3 separate regions of the Homo sapiens genome follow, and all the other regions are linked to region 3. The links are contacts of gene promoters, found by promoter capture Hi-C in human tissues and cell types (Jung and others, 2019). All regions are on one chromosome and are shown on one strand. The core of a region is centred on a gene start or on the middle of the fragment in contact, and the rest is flanking DNA. Distances in the headings are between cores, read along the strand shown. Region 1 has its middle 120 kb from the start of MIR187. Region 2 has its middle 140 kb from the start of MIR187. Region 3 holds the start of GALNT1 (polypeptide N-acetylgalactosaminyltransferase 1).

Region 1 (4,940 bases), core at 715-3,214, 210 kb before region 3:
GATGCCGATATGAAGAATTTAGCTCCATTACCAATCAACACAACTAGCTGTGAACTACATAAAACTATGAAAGAGGCTGAGTGTGGTGGCTCATATCTGTAATCCCAACACTTTGGGAGGCTGAGGCAGGAAGATCCCTTGAGCCTGGAAGTTTGGGACTAGCCTGGACAGCATAGTGGGACGCTCTCTCTTCAAAAACTAAAAAAATTAACAGGGTGGTGGTGCACACCTGTGGTCCTAGCTACTTGGGAGGCTGAAGTGGAAGGCTCATTTGAACCTGGGAGGCCAAGGCAGCAGTGAACCGTGATTACATCACTGTACTCCAGCCCGGGCAACAGAGTGAAGACCACCCTATCTCAAACAACAACAACAACAACAACAACAACCTATGAAAGAATACATTGTCCACAAATGTGGCTTTGAGTTTAAAGTGCGTGGAGAGAGTATTCTTGTGTTCTGACAGCTGCAATAACAGGAGAATATTCTGGAGCAGAGAGAGCAGTCATCCAGATTAAGGAGTTTGTGGCAGAATGTAAGTCAAATGCATGGTTTCATTCCGTGAGAAAGTCTTGCTACCAAAAACACTAAAACAAATCCTAAAAGACCCCCAGTGAACTGAATAGTATATCCAGTAATGAATCAAGAATTTGTGAATTACATGAAGACAAATGCACTAAAGATTTTCCTTCTTTTATGTGATAATATGTGAGTGGAACACAATAATCTCTTACTGCATGTTGAGATACAATCGTTTTGGCAGAAGTCTGTCAGGAACAAAATACAGAACAAAGTCATCACGCTTCCGCAAGATAAGGAATCCATTTGACCCAGTGTTTAAAGAGTAAACTGGACATCCAGACTTACTGATTTTTCTGATATCTCAGGTCTCTTAAATTTATTTTTTAATTAATTAATTTTTAAATTGACACACTTGTAATTGCACATATTATGAGGTACAATTTGATGTTTTGATACATATGTGTTGTATAATGATCAAATCTGTGTATTTAGCATGTTTACTACCTCATGTACTTATTTCTTTATGGTAAGAACATTCAAAAACCTCTCTTGTAGCTATTTTGTGATATACAATACCTTACTGTTCACCGTGGTCACCCTACTGTGCCATAGATGCTAGGACTTATCTTGCCTATTGTACCCTTGTACCCATTGACCAACCTTTCCACATTCTCCTCTTCTCTCTCCCCTCCCCACTCTCTGGTAACCACTGTTCTACTCTCTGCTTCTACTTTATTTTAGATTCTAGATATGAGTGAGATCATATGGTATTTGTTAGGTATTTTTAATGATCTTTAAATTTTCATGTAAGGTAGGAATGCAAGAAAACATCAAAAGGCAAAACCAAAAATTAGAATTTCTACAGATTTTTATGACATGTTTTGTCTCATCAACAATAATCAGAAATGTAGTGGATGGCCTATTACTGTATACCTGCATACTTGTGAAATTTGAATTTTATTTGTATCAGATACAATGCTCACATAAGAAAACTATGGTTCTGGAATCTATTTCTTTCATCAATAGATGTGGATAATTTAAATGAAACTGTGACTTTACAGAATAAATTGAAACTGTCTACTGACCAAGGACTGAAGACAAATTTTGAAAATATAACATTATTTGCTTTATTTTTGGATAACAGTTTTAAATGAATATTCTGAGCTTGCTGAAATTGCTTTAAAATCTCTTCTGCCTTGGCCAGGTGAGGTGGCTCATGTCTGTAGTCCCAGCTTCTCAGGAGGCTGAGGCAGGAGGGTCGCCTGAGTCCAGGAGTTGGAGGCTGCAGTAAACTATGATAGCACTACTGTACTCCAGCCTGGGCAACAGAGTGAGACTCTGCCTCCAAAAAAAAAAAAAAAAAAAAGTTTTGTCTTTACTCTTTTTATATGATATGTTTGTTTTGATTATATTTATTGAAATATAATTTTATGTCTGTTGAATACAATGAAAAATTTTGACTTACATCTTGTATGTCTGGTTTTTTATATCATTTAATTTTTTTGGTAATTCACTTTTATTGTATTTTATAAAAGTATTAGTCTATGATAAATTGGAAGTTTTTTTTTAAAAAAAGCAAATCTGCCCTTCTTCCCATGAGGAGGAGAAGGCACATGGTTGTAAAACCACAGAGACCACACCTGCTTCCACAAAGACCCACTTTTCAACACTCTTGTCTCAGCTGTTCTCCCACTTCTATTTTTTGCTGGAGTATTTTAAAGCAAATCCTAGACATCATATACTTGTATGAGCAACTACTTCAGTATATAGTTTTAAAAATAATGCCTTAAAAACTCTAATCACAATATCATCACATTCAACAAAATAAGTATTATAATTCCTAATAGTATCTAATACTTGGCTTATCTTCACTTCCCTGATTATCTTGAAAACAACTTTGAGGTTGGTTTGTTCAAGTCAGGATGCAAACAAGGGCCACATACTGCATTTGGCTGCTCTGTCTCAAGTCTCCTTTGATCTAACACTTCCCTCTTCTATTTCTTTAAAACCATAAGGCTGTTGAAGAAAGAGAGTCATTTGTCCTGCAGAATTTTTCACATATCTGAATTTGGCTTACTGCTTCCAGGGACGGTCTGTTAATCTCTTCCTCTATCCCCAATAGTTCTATCTCCTGTGAGTTAGTCAAAGGCTTTATTAGATTAATGCTTGTGTGTGTGTGTGTATGTGCATGCATGCATGCAAGATTACTTCCTAGGTGGTGCCATGTATTTCCGATTGCATCAGCCCGAGAGACACCTAAGTCTGGTTGCCACCCTCAGTGACTATGACATTGATCAGTGGGTTTAGTTTTTCACCCTGATCCACCCATTATCATATCCTCCATTGACTTTTACTTAATGGTTAGCAACCATTAATTATTGCTACCTAGATCCATTATTTCACTGGGGATTTGAAAAGTGGTGATTTTCTAAACATCTCTTTCCCTCTTCATTTATTAGCTTGAATGGATTTCTACAGAGGAAACATTATCTCTTCTCTTTATTTGGTTATCTTGAAATACAGACTGTAGAAAAGAACAGGAACAATGCTCAATTTTTTCCCTTCCTTTTATAAATTTCCAGAATAATAAATTTGCACCTTATCAATTTCCCAAGATAACTGATTAATTTTGTTTTATTTTGTATTTTTTAAATAGTATCTATACGAACTCATAGATTTTATATATTTGGTATGTTTCAAAACACTGCCATCATTATTCAAATGGCCCTGTCTTTGGGCAATGGGCACCTCTTCAGGCTGGTTCTGGGGTCTATTTTGACATCAATCTAGTAGACATTAAGAGCTCTTTGTTTTCAGGCATGACAAGGTGTCCCAGGCTCATCTTGTATGCTTTCAGCCCCAGGCATGAAATCAGCCATTTTTCTACTCTGGTTCCTTTTAGTGGAAGTTGAAACTTATGAGCCACAGTCTAGGTTCTATAGCTCTAAGTCCTTTACACCCTCTTCCCATGGACTGGAAGAGCTCATTAAAGATTAAATATGTAGAAGTTTGAGGCCAAGACCATTGCTTTGATTTGAGAGTCTAGTGTACACATCACCTTCAAGGAGCCCATGAGGAGACAGACTTGGGTCTCCCAACACAATACCAGAAAATAACACTTGTACCACCCCTTAAAACCTCTAACTGGTTTGAAATGACTTCATTCATTTACTCATTTGTCCATTCAACAAATACTTTGAGCACCTATTATATCTATTGTGTCAAGCCCCAGGCATATATATATGTATATGTGTATATATATATATATATATATATGTATATATAAATGAACAAAACAGACCTAATCTCTGCTCTCAGGCACACGATGTTCTAGTGAGGGGAGGACAATGAACAGGTAAACACGTTCGTGACAGAGTGTGGGGCATGCTTTCTATATAGCATGGTCTGGTGAAGATCTGGAGCAAATACCTGAGGAAATGAGGAAGGATGGCAGGCAGAAATCTAGGGAAAAGTGTCAGGACAGAGGGAACAGTCAGTGCAAGGGCCCTGAGCCAGAAGTGCACTCATCGTGATTTCTAACCCTAGAGATACTGACAAATTCTTTACTCTCCAACACGTCCTATCAATTTCAAAATATTTTCTCACAGTAACATTTTATAAGTTCACAGCTTGCCTCTCAGCAGTGACCTTTTTATATGGTAACTTTTATGCCATCACTTCACAATGTCTTGAAAGATATAACATCTTCCCCCATATCCCAACACTTATATTCTTAAAAATAACTTTTCTAATTCCAGAAGTTTGGGGTGTTTATTGCAGAACACATGGAAAACACACACACACACACAAAACACATAACAAAATTAAATGAAAACAAAACAGAAGCCATCTGTTTCTCCCCCCACCGCCCCTGCTACTGAGAATTCACCTCTGTTGACACTGAAATTTGTGTCCTTCCATTTTATTTACAAAAATGTAGTGAGTCCAGGACCTTGCCTTCTCATTTGTGGACATGGCTTTCAGTACCTGTAGAGACTGCCGGCTTATAACTGCCCAATAGTAATTTCTCAAAGCAGTAGCTTCTTCCTGAGTTATGGCTTGCACGTGCTAAATTATCCTTTTATACCTAGAGGGCACTTCCGGTGTATCACAAACCCTGTCCTTCCCTCTCTCCAGAGGTCATGCCACTGAGTTCCACTGTTTCCAAATTATCAGGCGGTCCTTGCTTCTCAGATAGATTTCTCTGATAGATGTGACAAAAAGAATCTGTCCCCACTCTCACCCTTTCCCCTTCCTGCCAAGAGAGACCCTTTAGGGTGGGTGGGATAGTGAGGCAGGCAATATTTGAAATGTAATATTGAAATGGTGGAGACAGAATTTAATGAATTTTATTTTAGTGTAAAATAGAATTTTAATTTACCTAGTTTGCTTTCATCACCCGATGCTGTGCATGGTATTGT
Region 2 (4,933 bases), core at 1,151-3,650, 180 kb before region 3:
TGGTGATATCCCCTTTATCATTTTTTATTGTGTCTATTTGATTCTTCTCTCTTTTTTTCTTTATTAGTCTTGCTAGCGGTCTATCAATTTTGTTGATCCTTTCAAAAAACCAGCTCCTGGATTCATTAATTTTTTGAAGGGGTTTTTTGGTCTCTATTTCCTTCAGTTCTGCTCTGATTTTAGTTATTTCTTGCCTTCTGCTAGCTTTTGAATGTGTTTGCTCTTGCTTTTCTAGTTCTTTTAATTGTGATGTTAGGGTGTCAATTTTGGATCTTTCCCGCTTTCTCTTGTGGGCATTTAGTGCTATAAATTTCCCTCTACACACTGCTTTGAATGTGTCCCAGAGATTCTGGTATGTTGTGTCTTTGTTCTCATTGGTTTCAAAGAACATCTTTATTTCTGCCTTCATTTTGTTATGTACCCAGTAGTCATTCAGGAGCAGGTTGTTCAGTTTCCATGTAGTTGAGCAGTTTTGAGTAAGTTTCTTAATCCTGAGTTCTAGTTTTATTGCACTGTGGTCTGAGAGATAGTTTGTTATAATTTCTGTTCTTTTACATTTGCTGAGGAGAGCTTTACTTCCAACTATGTGGTCAATTTTGGAATAGGTGTGGTGTGGTGCTGAAAAAAATGTATATTCTGTTGTTATGGGGTGGAGAGTTCTGTAGATGTCTATTAGGTCCACTTGGTGCAGAGCTGAGTTCAATTCCTGTGTATCCTTGTTAACTTTCTGTCTCTGTCTCGTTGATCTGTCTAATGTTGACAGTGGGGTGTTAAAGTCTCCCATTATTAATGTGTGGGAGTCTAAGTCTCTTTGTAGGTCACTCAGGACTTGCTTTATGAATCTGGGTGCTCCTGTATTGGGTGCATATATATTTAGGATAGTTAGCTCTTCTTTTTGAATTGATCCCTTTACCATTATGTAATGGCCTCCTTTGTCTCTTTTGATCTCTGTTGGTTTAAAGTCTGTTTTATCAGAGACTAGGATTGCAACCCCTGCCTTTTTTTGTTTTCCATTTGCTTGGTAGATCTTCCTCCATCCTTTTATTTTGAGCCTATGTGTGTCTCTGCATGTGAGATGGGTTTCCTGAATACAGCACACTGATGGGTCTTGACTCTTTATCCAATTTGCCAGTCTGTGTCTTTTAATTGGAGCATTTAGTCCATTTACATTTAAGGTTAATATTGTTATGTGTGAATTTGATCCTGTCATTATGATGTTAGCTGGTTATTTTGCTCATTAGTTGATGCAGTTTCTTCCTAGTCTCGATGGTCTTTACATTTTGGCATGATTTTGCAGCGGCCGGTACTTGTTGTTCCTTTCCATGTTTAGTGCTTCCTTCAGGAGCTCTTTTAGGGCAGGCCTGGTGGTGACAAAATCTCTTAGCATTTGCTTGTCTGTGAAGGATTTTATTTCTCCTTCACTTATGAAGCTTAGTTTGGCTGGATATGAAATTCTGGCTTGAAAATTCTTTAAGCACGTTGAATATTGGCCCCCACTCTCTTCTGGGTTGTAGAGTTTCTGCTGAGAGATCCGCTGTTAGTCTGATGGGCTTCCCTTTGTGGGTAACCTGACCTTTCTCTCTGGCTGCCCTTAAAATTTTTTCCTTCATTTCAACTTTGGTGAATCTGACAATTATGTGTCTTGGAGTTGTTCTTCTCAAGGAGTATCCTGAATCTGAATGTTGGCCTGCCTTGCTAGATTGGGGAAGTTCTCCTGGATAATATCCTGCAGAGTGTTTTCCAACTTGGTTCCATTCTCCCCATCACTTTCAGGTACACCAATCAGACGTAGATTTGGTCTTTTTACATAGTCCCATATTTCTTGGAGGCTTTGTTCATTTCTTTTTATTCTTTTTTCTCTAAACTTCCCTTCTCGCTTCATTTCATTCATTTGATCTTCCATCACTGATACCCTTTCTTCCAGTTGATTGCATCAGCTCATGAGGCTTCTGCATTCTTCACGTAGTTCTCGAGCCTTGGCTTTCAGCTCCATCAGCTCCTTTAAGCACTTCTCTGTATTGGTTATTCTAGTTATACATTCGTCTAAATTTTTTTCAAAGTTTTTAACTTCTTTGCCTTTGGTTTGAACTTCCTCCTGTAGCTTGTAGTTTGATTGTCTGAAGCCTTCTCTCAACTCGTCAAAGTCATTCTTTGTCCAGCTTTGTTCCATTGCTGGTGAGGAGCTGCGTTCCTTTGGAGGAGGAGAGGTGCTCTGCTTTTTAGAGTTGCCAGTTTTTCTGCTCTATTTTTTCCCCATCTTTGTGGTTTTATCTACTTTTGGTCTTTGATGATGGTGATGTACAGATGGGTTTTTGGTGTGGATGTCCTTTCTGTTTGTTAGTTTTCCTTGTAACAGACAGGACCCTCAGCTGCAGGTCTGTTGGAGTTTGCTAGAGGTCCACTCCAGACCCTGTTTGCCTGGGTATCAGGCAACCACGAATGCTGCTGTCTGATTGTTCCTCTGGAAATTTTGTCTCAGAGGAGTACCCGGCCGTGTGAAGTGTCAGTCTGCCGCTACTGGGGGTGCCTCCCAGTTAGGCTGCTCAGGGGTCAGGGGTCAGGGACCCACTTGAGGAGGCAGTCTGCCTGTTCTCAGATCTCCAGCTGCATTCTGGAAGAACCACTGCTCTCTTCAAAGCTGTCAGACAGGGACATTTAAGTCTGCAGAGGTTACCGCTGTCTTTTTGTTTGTCTGTGCCCTGCCCCCAGAGGTGGAGCCTACAGAGGCAGGCAGGCCTCCTTGAGCTGTGGTGGGCTCCACCCAGTTCGAGCTTCCCCACTGCTTTGTTTACCTAAGCAAGCCTGGGCAATGGTGGGCGCCCCTCCCCTAGCCTCGGGGCCGCCTTGCAGTTTGATCTCAGACTGCTATGCTAGCAATCAGCGAGACTCCGTGGGCGTAGGTCCCTCCGAGCCAGGTGTGGGATATAATCTCCTGGTGCACCGTTATTTAAGCCCGTTGGAAAAGCGCAGTATTTGGGTGGAAGTGACCCGATTTTCCAGGTGCCGTCTGTCACCCCTTTCTTTGACTAGGAAAGGGAACTCCCTGACCCCTTGCGCTTCCGGAGTGAGGCAATGCCTCGCCCTGCTTTGGCTCGTGCAACGGTGCGCTGCACCCACTGACCTGTGCCCACTGTCTGGCACTCCCTAGTGAGATGAACCCGGTACCTCAGATGGAAATGCAGAAATCACCCATCTTCTGCGTTGCTCACGCTGGGAGCTGTAGACCGGAGCTGTTCCTATTCGGCCATCTTGGCTCCTCCCCCCCTTCAATTTCCTTAATACACTGTTGTTTATTATTTCCTTCCTCCTGTTCACTTTGGGTTTATTTTGCTCTTTTCCTCCCTAGTCTCTTATGGCAGAAGCTTAAATTGTTGTTTTGATACATTTCTTGTTTTGTAATACAATCATTTAATGCAGCAAATTCCCTTCCCACTTTAGCTACATCCCACAAGTTTTGATATGTTACATAGTTATTTTCTTTCATTTCAATATATTTTCTGATTTCCCTTTTTTAAGTGTGTGGTTTGCTTTCTTATTGTTTAGAAATTTTCCTGTTATCCTTCTCTTATTGATTTCTAGTTTAATTCCATTATAGTCAGAAAACATACTTTGTATGATTTCAGTGCTTTTAAATTTAAGGTTGGATATGTTATTCACAATATGGCCTATCTTTGTAAATGTTCCATGTGCATTTGAAAAGAATGTGTAGTCTGCTGTTGTAGTGTGTAGTGTTCTGTAAATATGACTTAATTCAAGTTAGTTGATAGTGTTCCATTCTATCCTTGCCACTATTTCTATATATTACATAGAAAGGAGTGTTGCAATCTCCAAGTATTATTGTCAGCATGTCTACTCCTTTTATATTCTGACAATTTTTGTTTTCTGCATTTTGAAGCTCTATTCTCAAGTGCTCATACATTTAGAATTGTTGTGCTTTCCTGGTGATGAATTGATTTTTCTTTTTTTTTTAAAAAAAGTGTATTGAGGTAAAATATACATGTATAATTCACCATCTTTACCATTTTAAGTGTAAAATTCTGTGGTGATAAATAATTTACATTATTTTTCCCCTTCATTCCCCCTTCCCCTCTCCCCTCCCCCCTCCCCCCTCCCCAGCCTCTGGTAACCACCTATCTACTCTTCATCTCCATGAGATCTCTTCTTTGGCTCCCACAAGTGAGGACATGCAGTGTTTGTCTTTCTATGCTTTGCTTATTTCACTTAACATAATGGCCTCCAGTTCCATCCATGTTGTTGCAAATGGCAAGATTTCACTCTTTTTATGGATGAATAATATTCCATTGTGTATAGGTACATATTCTTTATCCATTCATCCATTAGTGGGCACTTAGGTTGATTCTGTATTCTGGATTTTGTAAATAGTGCTGCAATAAACATTAGAAGGCAGACATCTCTTTGATACATTGACCTCCTTTCTTTTGGATATATACCCTATAGTGGAATTGCTGAATCATGTGATAGTTCTATTTTTGGTTTTTTGAGGAAACTCTATACTGATCTCCATAGTGGCTGTGCTAATTTACATTCCCACCAACAGTGTACAAGGGTTCCCCTTTCTCCACATCCTTGTCAACATCTGTTATTGCCTGCCTTTTTGGTACAAGCTATTTTAAACAAGGTGAGATAATACCTCGTTGTGGTTTTGATTTGCACTTTCCTGATAATTAGTGATGTTGAACATTTTTTCATATACTTGTTGGCCATTTGTATATCTTCTTTTGAGAAATGTCAGTTCAGATCTTTTGCCGATTTTTATTTATTTTTAAATTTTTAATACTTTTTACTCTTTTAAAATATTTTTTTAACTGACACAGGGTCTTGTTCTTTTTTCACCCAGGCTGGAGTGCAGTGGCATCATCACTACTCACTGCAGCCTCAACCTTCTGGGCTCAAATGATCCACTACAGCTTCC
Region 3 (4,501 bases), core at 157-2,656:
CATGTAAAATGTCAATTCCAATAGGGCAAGGACATTGTGTCTCCCTTATTCACCATGTACCCAGAACTTAAAACTGTGCCTCATAGACAGATCGCATTCAGTAAATATTTACTGACACAACAAATGTATGTATAATTTAGACCAGGGCTGTTCAACTGTAGCAAAGAACCACATTTAGCTATGGAACACTTGAAATGTGGCTACTGTGACCGAGGAGCTGAATTTTTAAAATTTAATTTTAATAGTCACATGTGGTTAGTGGCTCCCACGCTGGACAGTCCAGGTCTGGACACAGATGTGATGTAAAGAGGACTGGACTAACAAGGTCTAGGTTTGAATCCCAACTCTGCTGCTCAGATTGTGACCTGAAAAGTTGCAACTTCTTAGGGCCTTCACTATTTCATCTGTGAAATGACAAGACCTCCTAACTCTCAGCGTTCTTGACACGATTATAAAGCAATGTATTAAACATAAGATATGATCAAAGTGACATTCTCTGCCCTCCAGAAACAGTTCAGAAAGACTACTTTGCCTATTGCCCACTTGACCAAAAAAATGCCAAGTGAGTTTGGTAGACGGGTTGGTTAGCTCAGTGGCTTTGAGAATGAGGACAAGGTCACAAATCTGGGGAGTAAGGGAACCTCATCTAGCAAGGCTGACCAGATAAGAGAAGCAATGACAATGCAAATCATCCCAATTCCTGGTAAATGCTTAAATGGGCAACGTATTGATTATGGATGAGTAAATGACATCTCATTCATTCATTCTTCCAGGAAAAGCGGAAAAGCTACTACATTACCTAAAGCCCGCTACTTCCCAACCACAAACATTTGCTAATTTAGGTCCGGGTCCTCCTCGGGGGCAGCGGGCCGGGAAGCCCCCTCCCCCGCTGCCGGCGTGTCTTCCCCTCCCCCGTGGCGCCGCGAGGGTCAGGCTGGCACCGCGGTTGCAAGTACCACACGGCCGAACCCAGAAGCCATATTTAGCTTTATTTTTGTCAATAAAACAAACTTCCGTCTTCTAAAGAAAAACGGTTCTAACTCAATGTCAAACTAGGACGGAAACTCGCTGCTCGCCAAAGCTGCCAACCAGAGACGCCGCGTGTCCAACGGCACCGGGGTCCCAGACCCGAACCCGCGCCGAGCGTGCCCGCGCCCCGGCCCCAGGCAGCGCCGGCCACAAAGGGACCGGGGACGCGGCCGCGGCGGGGCCTCTTTCTCCACCTCCGACCCGCGCGCAGCGCTGCGGCTCCGGGACTGCCCAGCCGCGGGCGATACACTCACCTCGCTAGGCGCGCGGCGGCGGCGGCGGCAGGCGTCCTCCGGGCCGGCCGCGGCGGTCGCGGCCGGTCCCGCGGCCAGCGCGCTACTCTCGGGCCGCCGTCCGCCGCGCGCTCCTCGGCCACTGCCGGCGGCTCCCCCGGCGGGCGGGCGGGTCCGGCCGGGCCCCGCTCCGCCGCGCCCGCCCCCGCCTCCGCGCCCGGCTCGGGTCGGCGGCTACTCCGGGCGCCCCGCTCGCGGGCTCGGGCGGCGCTACTCCGGGCCGCCCCGCATGCGCGCCGCCTGCCCGCTCACTTGGGGCTCGTCGCGCGGCGGGCGCCGCAGGGCGCCCGCAGGCGCTCGGGCGCGGTCCTCCCTGCGCTGCGTGCTCGGCGGCAGCGGCGGCGGCGGCCCGTGCGGCTGCGCGGGGGAGGCGGGGGCGCCGGCGCTCACCCGGATGCGCGCCCCCTCCGCTGCGGCGAGCCCACCGCGGGGCCGCGACGCTCCCCTCGGGCTCGGGACTCCGGGGTCGGGCGCGGCGCCCCTCCCGGACCGACCGCCCAGTCCCGGCCCCCGCTCACACGGCTACGGGCAGGGCCGGGCCAGGCCGAGAGGTGCCCCCGACCCTGGGTCGGGACAAAGAGGCTGCCGCAGCAAGTTAAAGACAACTCGGGCTGTTGCGCGTCGAGCAGGTCACGGGGTGGGAGGAGATGGAGGAGCCCTCACAGCGGATCGGCTCCCGGGCCGAGCGCGGGGCCGCCCCAACCCGGTCGGCTGCCTGAGGCGGCCGCGAGCGCGGGAGCTGGAGCGCTGTCAGCCGCGCTGAGCCTGCGCCTGGCGACCGCGATGCAGGAGGCCCGGGACTGAGGGAGGACGGCGAGAGCGGAGGCCCGCGACCCGCACCGCCGGGGCAGGCACCCGGGTCTCGGGGGCAGCAACGCCGGGGCCCTTGCAGAACGGGGACTGTTTGGGGAAGTGGCTCCCGCACAGTGCCCGGAGAGGGGCCCTCCCTCTGTGCCCCCTTGGGAAACACTGCTTGGTACAATTCCAATACCCAGCTGTACCCTGCCCTGAAGATAGAAGACAAAACCCTGGCTCTGTCACTCACGCGAGGCATAACCAACCATTCTTTTAATAAATTAATTTTCTACTTAAATAATTCAGAGGTTTGTGTCTTATTGCTTGCCAACCAAGAGCTGCAATAAGAGATTACTTAATATTTAAGTGGTCCCACTTTTAAATTTATATTACCTCTCACATAACCAAAAGGCTGTCCGAAAAAAAAAAAAAAAAACCTGAAGATTATCTCTGGAATTTTAGTATCCTGTTTTTGCTTGTCTACATCTTCCAAGTATTCTAAAATAAAAGTTAAAAGTTACTATTTTAAAAGTACTTATATAATATTTTGAAACAAAGTCAATCATGACTAGCCTGTTACTGTTCCACAAGGAAACTTCACTTTGGAATAAAGTTGTCATCGTTAAAAAATACTCTTATCTTGGGAGAAAAGATTGGCAAATCATATATCTGTTAAAGGACTTGTAGCCAGAATGTATGAAGAACTCTTACAACTCAGTAATAAGACTAATAGTCCAATTTTAAATGGGCAAAACAATTGAATAGACGTTTTACCAAAGATATTTAAATGATCAACAATTACATAAAAAGGTGTTCAACATCATTAGTTAATAGGGAAATGCAAATTAGAAGCACAACAAGGAAGTTCTTGACACCCACTACACTGGCTGTAGTACAAAAGACAGACAGACAATAGCAGTGTTGGTGAAGAGATGGAGAAATTAGAACCCTCATACGTTGCCTATGGAAATGTAAAATGGTGCAGCCACTTTGGAAAACAGTTTTCCAGGTTTTTTAAAAAGTTACACATGAAGTATTCTATCACCCAACAATTCCACTCCTAGGCGTATGCCTGAGAGAACTGAAGATAAATTCATACAGTAACTTGTACATGAATATTAATAACAGTGTTATTCATGATAGCCAAGAAGTAGAAACAGTCCAAATGTCCAGAAACTGCTGCGTGGATAAAATGCAGTATATGCCATACAGTGGACTACTACTCAGTAAAAGGAACGAAGTAGTCATAGAAGATACAACATAGAGGAACCTCAAAAACGATAAGCTAAGTGGAAGAAGCTAGATGTGTAAGAGCCTGTATTGTAGGATCTATTTACAGCCATGCCCCGGTCAATGATGGGTCACCTGTACAATGGTGGTCCCATAAGATTATATGCAGCTGAAAAGTTACTATCACCAAGTGAGGTAGCCTTCATAATGTCGTTGGGCAATGGGTTACCTTTTCTGTGTTTAGATACACAAATACCATTGTGTTAACAATTGCCTGCGGTATTCAGTACAGTCCCATGCTGTACAGGTCTGTAGCCTAGGAGCAATAAGCTGTACCATGTAGCCTAGGTGTGTAGTAGGCTATACCATCTAGGTTTGTGAGTATACTGTATGATATTCTCACAATGACAGAATTGCCTAACAATGCATTTCCCAAAACATACCCCTGTCATTAAGTGACACATTGACTATGTAAGATATCTAGAAAAGGCAAATCGATACAGATAATCAGTGGTCTAGAGCTGGGGGTAGATATGGGGAATGACTGCAAAGGGGCACAAGAGATCTCTTTGCAGTGATATAAATGTTCTAAAATTGGATTGTGGTAATGGTTGTAGATTTACGAAAACTACCTGAACTGTGCACTTGAAATGTGGATTTTATGGTATGTGCAATTACCTCAATAAAGCAATTAAAAAAAAAGATAACTGTGTACCATTAAATAGCGCAGGAAAATAGTACCTTTTTAATCTGCTTGCAACAAGTTCTTTGCAATGAAAACTACCTGTAAGACAAATGAAAAATTGTGTGCTGTTTGCACATAATTCTACCGTGTAATCAAATGCACTTTTCACAACTGTTTTTATAACCAAGCACATTTACCCTTCAACAATCCAAGTCTACTCCTATTCATTCCAAAATGTGTCTTCACTGTACCTGCTAACAGAACAGAAAATGGGGTAGAAAAGGGTAAGCATATTTGAGAGCAGGAAAAAACTAGATTCTTTACAACAAAGTCAAGATTTGCCAAGAAGGAATAGTTGAAAGGGCATAGACCAGGGAATCCAGAGTAAGAATGCTTTCTTTCCCAGTGTTAATCTTGTTTTTCTTTGGCTCTGCCCCAGGACTCATTGGTTGCCTCCAGTAATGCACGT

Evidence for each region. The method cuts DNA at HindIII sites, captures the fragments that hold promoters and counts their contacts. A contact is called where the count stands out against the background at its distance.
Region 1: a fragment that was not itself captured here is called in contact with the fragment with the promoter of GALNT1 in region 3 in 2 of the 25 tissues and cell types used here (mesendoderm cells and thymus).
Region 2: a fragment that was not itself captured here is called in contact with the fragment with the promoter of GALNT1 in region 3 in 1 of the 25 tissues and cell types used here (mesendoderm cells).

What each region holds. Positions count from the first base shown.
Region 1 is chr18:35,784,371-35,789,310 of GRCh38, reverse strand. No RefSeq gene overlaps it. Among named protein-coding and RNA genes, the nearest start is that of MIR187, 120 kb to the left of the region's middle. The HindIII fragment of the contact is 7,347 bases long and covers 1-4,940 here.
Region 2 is chr18:35,758,639-35,763,571 of GRCh38, reverse strand. No RefSeq gene overlaps it. Among named protein-coding and RNA genes, the nearest start is that of MIR187, 140 kb to the left of the region's middle. The HindIII fragment of the contact is 3,837 bases long and covers 482-4,318 here.
Region 3 is chr18:35,578,645-35,583,145 of GRCh38, reverse strand. GALNT1 (polypeptide N-acetylgalactosaminyltransferase 1) reads right to left here and starts at 1,406. Exons shown (of 12, transcript NM_020474.4): 1 at 1,284-1,406. RefSeq lists a silencer at 1,665-2,364. The HindIII fragment of the contact is 13,517 bases long and covers 1-4,501 here.